2 separate regions of the Homo sapiens genome follow, and region 1 is linked to region 2. Evidence: promoter capture Hi-C in human tissues and cell types (Jung and others, 2019). All regions are on one chromosome and are shown on one strand. The core of a region is centred on a gene start or on the middle of the fragment in contact, and the rest is flanking DNA. Distances in the headings are between cores, read along the strand shown. Region 1 overlaps ITSN2 (intersectin 2). Region 2 holds the start of TP53I3 (tumor protein p53 inducible protein 3).

The links. The method cuts DNA at HindIII sites, captures the fragments that hold promoters and counts their contacts. A contact is called where the count stands out against the background at its distance.
Region 1: a fragment that was not itself captured here is called in contact with the fragment with the promoter of TP53I3 in region 2 in 1 of the 25 tissues and cell types used here (mesendoderm cells).

Annotation. Positions count from the first base shown.
Region 1 is chr2:24,266,317-24,271,065 of GRCh38, forward strand. ITSN2 (intersectin 2) reads right to left here. Exons shown (of 40, transcript NM_006277.3): 20 at 4,355-4,452. Among named protein-coding and RNA genes, the nearest start is that of ITSN2, 92 kb to the right of the region's middle. The HindIII fragment of the contact is 4,180 bases long and covers 802-4,749 here.
Region 2 is chr2:24,082,672-24,087,583 of GRCh38, forward strand. It overlaps TP53I3 (tumor protein p53 inducible protein 3), which reads right to left and starts at 2,163. Exons shown (of 5, transcript NM_004881.5): 1 at 1,518-2,163; 2 at 214-481. The coding sequence starts at 1,655. It also overlaps a transcript of FAM228B not described here. RefSeq lists enhancers at 1-805, 1,401-1,500, 1,651-1,700, 2,448-2,948 and a silencer at 1,711-1,890. The HindIII fragment of the contact is 16,390 bases long and covers 1-4,912 here.

The DNA of each region.
Region 1 (4,749 bases), core at 1,642-4,141, 180 kb after region 2:
ACTCAACAAATGTTAACTTGAATGGATTATTCTAAATTTGATTAACAATAGACTTAAAGCTTAATTAGTAATAAATGGATTATTAGGGCAACTTCATTTATGTTTATGGTAAATAATTCTCATTTTAATGTTATATGTCTGGCTATTTATTACATCATGAATGAAATATTTAGAAAACTCCTAAACCAGAGCTGCTATGGCTAAACTGTATGATGTCACAGTAATGTAGCTCCCATAAAATGGTGTTCTAAAATAGTTAGAATGAAAGCAAACACTTATGAAATATTATCCTGTAAATCTAGTTTAAGACTAGTTTAAAATAGTTAAGTCTGCCAGGCACGGTGGTTCATGCCTGTAATCACAGCACTTTGGGAAGCCAAGGTAAGAGGGTTGCTTGAGGCCAGGAGTTTGAGACAAGCGTAGGCAACATAGTGAGAAACTCCATCTCCACAAAAAAAAAAAAAAAAAAAAATAGCCAGGTGTGGTGGTGTGTGCCTGTAGTCTCCACTACTCAAGAGGTTGAGGTGGGAGGATGGCGTGAGCTCGGGTGGTCGAGGCTGTAGTGAGCCATGATCCCGCCACTGCACTCCAGCCTGGGTAACAGATTGAGACCCAGTTTCAAAAATAAATAAATAAATAAAATAAAATAGCTAAGCCAGAGCAATATAAATTCAGACAAGAATACAATAAACCCTGAGGAATTACACAAACCAAAGTATTTCAATGCTGCAAAATGCTCAGCATTGTACCTGATTTAAATGTATTGTCTTGGACATGGATGACGCTGAAAACCATCATTCCCAGCAAACTAACACAGAAACAGAAAACCAAACACCACATGTTCTCACTCACAAGTGGGAGTTGAACAATGAGAACACATGGACACAGGGAGGGGAACATCACACAGCGGGACCTGTCAGGGGGTGGGGGACTAGGGGAGGAAAGCATTAGGAGAAATACCTAACGTAGATGACAGGTTGATGGGTGCAGCAAACCACCATGGCACATGTATACCTATGTAACAAACCTGCACGTTCTGCACATGTATCCCAGAACTTAAAGTATAAAAAAAAAAAAAAAGTATGGTCTTAAGGAAAGGAATCACCGTAAGCTATGAGTATTGGCTATATATAGGTACACATATGTACATACATACATACACACACACACATTTACCACATTTACTTACATGCCCTTCCTACTTTCCTTTCTACCTCCCTTCACTGACGGACTTGGCTGGCTGGCTGACTTTTCAGACAGGGTCTTACTCTGTCACCCAGGCTACTAGAGTGCAGTGGTGCAATCACAGCTCACTGTAGCCTTGACCTCCTGGGCTCAAGTGATTCTGCCACCTCAGTCTCCACAGCAGGTGGGACTACAGGTGCACACCACCAAGCCCCGCTAATTTTTTTTTACTTTTTGTAGAAACAGGGTCTTCCTATGTTGCCCAGGCTGGTCTCTAACGCCAGTACCTACGTGATACTCCTGCCTCGGCCTCTCAAAGTGCTGGGATTATGGGTGTGCACCTGCACCTGGCCAAAAGCTTTTAAAAGTATTAATTTCTAGATACACTTTTTCCTAGTGTTTTCAACCTAATCAAGAAGAAAAATCTCGTTCATTTATTCTGTAGTTAGGCCAAGTTGTTTTAGTAAGAGGTCAATTTTAATCTCTTTCACATCTGTCATTTATAGTTGTAATTAATTTTTAGTTGTTAATTTACATACTGAGTTAAACTGAACATTTTATATAAATTCTCACAGGCCTAGCAAAACTACTTATTACTTCTTCTTAACTACTTATTAATTAATGTTAGCAAAATAGCATTAACAGATTAGAAGGCTAGAAAAACATTTCAGCTTGTCATCGAAAATGTGGCCAAGACTCAGTGGAATTTCTAATCCTTTTCACTTTCAATGAAACCTCCGGTAACACCCTCATCCATTAAGTTGATCAGACCTTGCCTCCTATCTTACCGGGAATTTGGAAGTCCTGGGACCTGACTTCATCTTCTACTTCAGCAAAATTTACTTTAATCCCTCCCACCCTTTCTTCCTGCCCTCTAATGACAAAGGATAAGGTATTCAATCCTTCTACCACTCTCTTCCAGGGCTCCAGATTCCAGCCTTCTAGCCTTTTCAAGAATCTTCCTCATCTCCATCTATTAGTCAGAACAGGGAGGTTTGACAAGGAACATGAAGTGCCTTCCTGATGCTGTACGTTCTACACACTGATCTGAGGGGGGCTTCACAGATACACAGATGTGTACACATTCTTTGAGCTGTATACTTATGGTTGTACACTTTGCTATATATAAATTATACTTTAATAAGAAAAAACAATCTTTATCAGTTATTTATACTCTTTCCATTATCATTAACCTGTTTCCTCTCTGCAGATCCTTTCTACTATTATTTAAACTTGCTCAAGCTTCAGCCAACTTTAAAAAAAAAAAAAACTTCCCTCAACCCACATTTCTCATTATTTACTACCTTCTCTCCTTCTCCCTTTCAAAGCCAAGCTCATTCAAAGAGTTTTATATATTCACTGTCTCCTCTTCCTCTCTTCCAATTTATTCCAACTCACTGAAATCTGGCTTCTCGCTCTACTAGTCCACTTAACTGATACTGCTGTCCTCAAGTTAACAACACCTGTGCTATTGCTAATCTAATAATTTTTTTAGTCCTTGTTTTATTTCACTTGCAGATCACTCTTCTCAAAGTTCCCTAACATTAAACTCTCCTGTTTTTTTTTTTTTCCTACTACTAGTCACTCCTTTTAAGGCTCCACTTCCTCTAATAATTCCTTCAGTGTCCATGTTTCTCAGGAACTGCATCCTCAATCCTCTTCTCTCTCACGTTACTACTCCCCTGGATGAGCTCCATTACTCTCATGTCTTCCAACACCATCACATCACACTGGCGACATCCAGATTTACATCCTCAGCCCAGACCGCTGCCTGACATCTCTCTAGGTACTCTGGAGATCCAACTACTACTGCCTGGACATCTGAAACTCATACAAAACTGAACTCATAATTCTACTTATATATTCCCCCTCTGATTTTCCCTCTTAGGAAATGACACCATCATTAACCAATTTGTTCAAATCAGGCAACTCATGACTGACAGTAGTAACTCATGACTAATACTTCATGTTAATGATTCAGCAGAGTACACAAGCACCCAAGACACACAGCTAACTTTATGTTTCTGTTGTCACTGCCACCAGAATGGCTCTCTGACCATGGGAGAGGTCTGTGCTAAAGCTGGTAGCAGTCTACAACCTTTTCCTTACCTTCCTTCCTCTACTGCTTTAGGTTGTCACGCTTTTTCATTAGCCTACAAGCGTGTTAAGAGCAGAGATAATGTCTTATTCACTAAATCCCTAGTCTAACATAGTCAGCCCTCAAAAAATATTTGTTGAAATAAATAAAAAATATAACCAAAAATATAAGTAAACTCTTGACCAAACACGCCCAGAGATTGGTTGTATCTCTTCATCCAGACACCATCACCAACAAGGAGAGGAGGAATGGTAGGAAGAGCAGACAGTGGACTTGGGCTGGTTGTAGAACAAACCTCTCCCCCTGCTCGGGCACAGCTCCGGTACTACTAATAGCGGCAATGGCAAGAGCAGGAATGTGTGTTTAGGGTTTATCTTGGGTGCTAGCGTTTTGGTAAATTTTTTTCCCTAGTATCATTAAACATTTGCCACCTAACTGATAAATCACACTAACTGGTGACAGTGCAGGGGGAGCGGGGGAAAGAGGCACTGGCTAGATACTCTGGCTAGATACTCTGGTTAACATTAGTTTAACAAGAAGAAAACAGAAGCAGAGACTAAAATCCAAGTTTGTGTGCTTCTAAAGCCTGTACTCTTTCCATTATGTCCTACTGGCTCTATCAAACACTACTCCTGGGATCTTCTCTTATTCATGTATTTTATATGGATTGTGATAACACAATAAAGACTTTCGTTCCAAGGAACAAATTGCCTGTATCCAGTTAGGGCTGTGGAATCTAACTCCTTCAATTCTTTTAACAGTTGCTGTATGGCATAGCAGAAACAACGCTGGATTTGGAAATAAAAAAACACATAACTGCATCCCATTCTGGCACTGCAATGCTGACAGTTACAACTTGTGTGAGTTTAAGCTTCCTTGGCTAGAACTTAGTTAGTAATAATAACTGTCCTATGCAGCTCTGAAGTATGTTGTAAAGTCCAAATGAGGTAATGTTTAAGAAACATTTTACAAAGGTAAATATATGAAATTAATGGTCAACATTACTACAGAAACTAATATATTACAATGTATTTAGGTTATTCATGATTAAAAAAAAAATTCATTTCCTACCTGAATTATATCTCCAGAATTAAAACTCATCTCATCATGGTTCCTTGCTTCAAAGGGGTATAATGCTCTATAATTCACCAAAACACTAGCTGTCTCACCTAAAGAGAAGACAATTGTCATTATTTGCAACTTACATGTATACATCTTTGCTATGACTCAATAAAGAGCTCTAAAACCTAAAAGAAAAAATCAAGCACCAAATACTACAATGAAAATCCACTTGATACAGACTTGCTAGGATTTCAGTATCTTGACTAGTCATCTAATAAAAAAGCAAACAAGGATGCTCATCTTAAGTAAGGTAGGAGGCAGCAAAACAAAGAGATGACTTGCGGGATGAAGCACACACATGGGTAGAAAGGAAAGTGCAGGAGTGGGGGCCAGGCTGAGCTGTA
Region 2 (4,912 bases), core at 913-3,412:
TAGGCCTCCTATCTAGTGTTATCCAGACCCTCTATCTGCTAACCATGATTCTCAGCCTCAACATTAAACCCTTCTAACATGGTTTGAGGACCTGACAATACAGGTGATACAGGAAGGCCTGGGAGTGCCCTGGGGGATTGCTGGGATTCAAGTTGGCTGATTTATGAAGGTGTTGAGCCACATTGTGTGGAGTGAGCATGGAGGCCTCCTCACCCACAAGATGTAACAGCTGGAAGGCGGTGAGCCAGGCCTCTGGGATGGCTGCAGCCTGGGTCAGGGTCAATCCCTCTGGGATAGGCATGAGGAGCCCTTCGGGGACAGTGACGTACTGAGCCTGGCCCCCACCGGGGAGCAGAGCCATGGCTGTGTCCCCGATCTTCCAGTGTCCCTGGCAGCCAGGCCCCAGCTCTGCCACATGTCCAGATGCCTCAAGTCCCAAAATGTTGCTGGCTCCTGGAGGTGGGTCATACTGGCCTTGTCTCTGCAGAGAAAGAAGTGCACTAAGTGGTGAGCATGATCAGAAATCTGTATGTCACTACCCCTGGCCCCCCTTCCAAGATCCCCTCTTTTTTTTTTCAAAAATAAATTTCAGAATGAAGTCAGGTTTTTGTAAGTAAGGAGAAGAAAAAGGAGAGGCCATTAGTTTTATGCAAATAAACTGGAGGTCACATGATCAGTGGATGTTATAACTGGTAGAGTCCTTAGCTATTTACCTCATCTGAACCCCTTGCTTTACAGATGGAGAAACTGAGTCCCAGACGGGAAATAATAGTAGTGGGATTAGGAACCTTGACGATGGTTCCCATGCATCAAGCGCTAGGCTCTGTGCTCACTCACCCCAGTCCTCAGAAGCTGTAGAGCAGAGGGACTTAACCAGGAGTGTGTGGCAGAACCACCTGAGGAGTATTTCAAAGTACACGTGCCTGGGCCCCCATCACGTTTCTTTTGTGCCCCGGGGGATTCTGATGCACATTTCTGAATGACCCCAACCAATGCAGCTGGCCCAGGTCAGTAAATCAGCATCAGACAGAAGAAAATTCTTAAGAGTACTGCCCGCTGTCAGCTCCGGGACTCTCAGAGTGGAAAGAGTTAAGAGGTCTTTGGAGCCACAAAGACCTCAGCTTGAATCCCAGCTCTTCTGATTGCTAGTGTCACGGCCTTGGGCGTACTGCTTAACCTCACTGAACTTCAGTTTCCTTATCTGTAGAATTAAGATGGCGAACAGGGTAGCCTGGGGAGTAAGTGTGCCCACACCCCACAACAATGTTAGTTCCGCCCTCATCTGGAGGCCTGAGTGGCTATGGATTAGCTCGGGGTGGATTCTGCTTTACAAGTACTCCCCCTTGTTTTGCATGAACAAAGAGGGCGCCCTGGGTTTAGGTCTGGGAAGCCCCAGCGCAGCTGCCTGCTGGGTGTGGAGCGGTGCACGCCTTCACGTCTGGTCAATGTCCACTGAGTGCTGTTGAGAGGGAGGCTCTGGAGTCCCGCCCGCCCCGGCGCGGCTGAGCCCTGGGTACCTGCATTAAGTCCGCCCGGTTCAGGGCGCTGGCCGCCACCTTCAGGAGGACTTCACCCTCCCCCGGGCTCGGCTTGGCCACCTCCTTCACGTAGAGGTTTTCCGGTCCTCCCGGCTTGTCAAAGTGCACGGCTAACATATTGTCTGAGGACACAGGGCAGGGCAGGGCAGGACAGGACAGGGCAGGGCAGGGCAGGACAGGACAGGGCAGGGCAGGACAGGACAGGGCAGGGGCCGCTGTATCCTCGCGGAGCAGCCCAGCCTCAGGCTGGCACCGCAGCGCCCCCTGCCGGCCAGCGCCTCGCTGCCCTGGTCTGCCGCGGACCCGGCCTCCGCCCCGAGCTCCTGCCTGGGAAGTCCTCGGCCGCCTCCAGACCGATCCCACCCGGAACACAGATGGGAACGGCGGGAAGTGGGATGGCGGTACAGGGCTGGATGCGGCAGAGCAGGACAACGCCGAAGAGGATCAGGCAAATCACACTCCCTCTGAGTTGGAAGCCCCCAGCCCGACCCGGGTCCCCGGCGCCCGTATGAGTTACTTACTCCTGGCCCGGCTCCCCTCCCATGCACCAGGCGGCGCCGAGTGGTTCTGGCTCCTGCGGGTCCCGGTGACAAAGCCCGAGCCCCAGAGCCCCAGGACTGCCTCTGCCTCCACCGGAATGGACGGCTGGACCTGGGGTAGCCGGAGGGGTGGGGCTAAGCAGAACCACCCTCCCCCTCTTTCCTTTCCTCCTTCCCCCTTTAAAACGCAAAGTTAGAAGCAAGCAAATCAGATTTTCTTGTCCTTTTAGCCTCTGGAAAAGAGTCTTTCTCTCAGCTTGACAGAAAGTGCGATTCTAGCTCTCACTTCAAGGAGAGGAAACTTCCTTCTCTCTAGGGAACGAGACCCAACCTCTTGGCGGGCGGATTGGTCCATTTTCCAGGCATGGCCAGGCTTTTGGCACATTTATGTAACAGGCTGGCATCCCGCCCATCTTGAGCATGGGTGGGCAAGCTGGGTGCTGCTAAGAGAAGAGAAAGGAGCCGTTGGGAGTGGGGGTGGGGAAGGAAGGCAAAACGCAGTCCTGGGATCCTTATCACTCGCCTCCTCCTGACAGTCCTGGGGGAGAGGTTCAGCCCCAGGAGAAGGATGCTGGCGATTGGGTAAAAGCTGTATCCGTAAGCTACATGAAGGTTTCTCAATCTCGGCGCTATTGACATTTTGGACTAGCTAGTTCGTTATTGTAGGAGATCGTCCTGTGCATCGTAGGATGTTTAGCAGCATCCCTGGCCTCCCCCCACTACATATCCGTAGCACTCCTTGTAAATTCCTGTTTTAGTAAGAACCTCCCATCCTTGACATCTGATCACCCTCAATATCTCATCCTCCACCATCCCCCAAGTGATATCCGACCACCCTGGCCTGTCTTCAGTGAGAATCCTGTTAGGTCAGTTTAGATAGAATCCCCCTTACCCCTGATGCCTCTTACCAATTTTCCATCCACTGACCCCCTACACTGCTCCTTGGCTATACATTCCCACTTGTCCGTGATGCATTCAGAGTTGATCCCAACCTGTCTCCTCCACTGCAAGAACTCATTGCAGTGGTCCCTAAACCTGTAGCGATGGTGCTAAATAAAGTCTTCCTTAATGTGCTTTAACAAGTATCATTGAATAATTATTTCTTTAACACAACAGAGCAAAAGCCTATAGAGATGGAAATAATAAAATGATGGGACTTAAGGAAAAATTCAGGAGACCCTGCTATGAGAATAACAGGAATTTTAGGCCGGGCGCGGTGGCTCACGCCTGTAATCCCAGAACTTTGGGAGGCCAAGGCGGGCGGATCACGAGGTCAGGAGATCGAGACCATCCTGGCTAACACGGTGAAACCCCGTCTCTACTAAAAATACAAAAAATTAGCCGGGCGTGGTGGCGGGCGCCTGTAGTCCCAGCTATTCGGGAGGCTGAGGCAGGAGAATGGCGTGAACCCGGGAGGGGGAGCTTGCAGTGAGCCGAGATCGCACCACTGCACTCCAGCCTGGACGACAGAGTGAGACTCCGTCTCAAAAAAAAAAAAAAAAAAGGAATTTTAGAAGGAGGAAGAGGAATGGATGAAGAAGATTCAATAGTTAACCAAATAAAAGAATACAGTTTTCCTAAATTCTACCAGATTATACGGATTGAAAACATTCACTAAAGGATGGATTCATAAGAACAAAAATGCATGCCTATATTTTATAAAATTTCAGGTTCTAACAAGTGTGGAAAGAATAAGTTACTCACAATTGGTTAAAAAAAATGGCTTCCTTCTCTCCCTCCCTCCCTCCTTCCTTCCTTCCCTCCTTCCCCACCCCCTCTTTCTCTCTCTCTCTTTTTTGTAGTGTAGGGGTCTCATTATGTTGCCCAGGCTGGTCTCAAACTCCTGGACTCAAGCAATCCTCCTGCCTCAGCCTCCCAAAGTGCTAGGATTACAAGTATGAGCCACTGTGCCCAGCAAGTTTCTATCTGCAATCTGGAAGCTAGAAGAGAGTAGACTAGCGTCTATTGACTAGAAGAAAAGCACTGTAACTCAATATACCCCATTAAGATATAATTCACTTGTTAGGGCAAAAAACATGTCTGAGGATGTATAAGGATTCAGAGACACATCATCCGGATACACATCTGTCCAAAATCGAGGAAAGGTTTGAACCAAATAAATATCCTAGAACAGAGACAGATGGAAAGGAAATAGTTGTAAATAACAAACTTTGCAAAAATCGACACTAAAACTGATTGGATTAAGAAAATGGAATGGATTAAGATAGATGAGGAATGTGTAATGTAAGTGCTAAATAAGAACTTTTAAGATGCAAGGAGTAACTTTAAAAAAAATCTAATAATACCAACCACTAAGTATACTAAAGTATCCCAGTAAAACTAGTAGTTGAAAGTGCCTAAGATTTTATCTTAGTGAGCCCTTGGTCGATGTAATCTTGCAGTGTGTAATAAGAAATATATATTTTTGGTCTTTGTCCTGGGTTCCTACAATAGCACTCCTAAAACCTTTGTTATTTGCTGAATAAACATCTCTTTCTTTCTTTTGTTTTTAACTAGATATACGGTCTTGCTACGTTGCCCAGGCTGATCATGAACTCCTGGACTCAAGCAATTCTCCCACCTCAGCCTGTAAAGTACTGGAATTATAGGCATGAGCCACTCTGCCTGGCCAATAAGTATCTTTTATTATATTTTGTTCTCCTGCAGAGCTCCTAAAACCCTTGGAATTTCGTATGTGATAGAAGTGACTTTTTATATTAATAACAAACCCTTATAAGCACACTCGAGTTTATGCTAATATGACTTAGGGTGGGGGCCCTAGATAGCTTCAGGATGAGCTGGTCACCAGAAAGACCCTGGGAAGGGGAAGCAGGG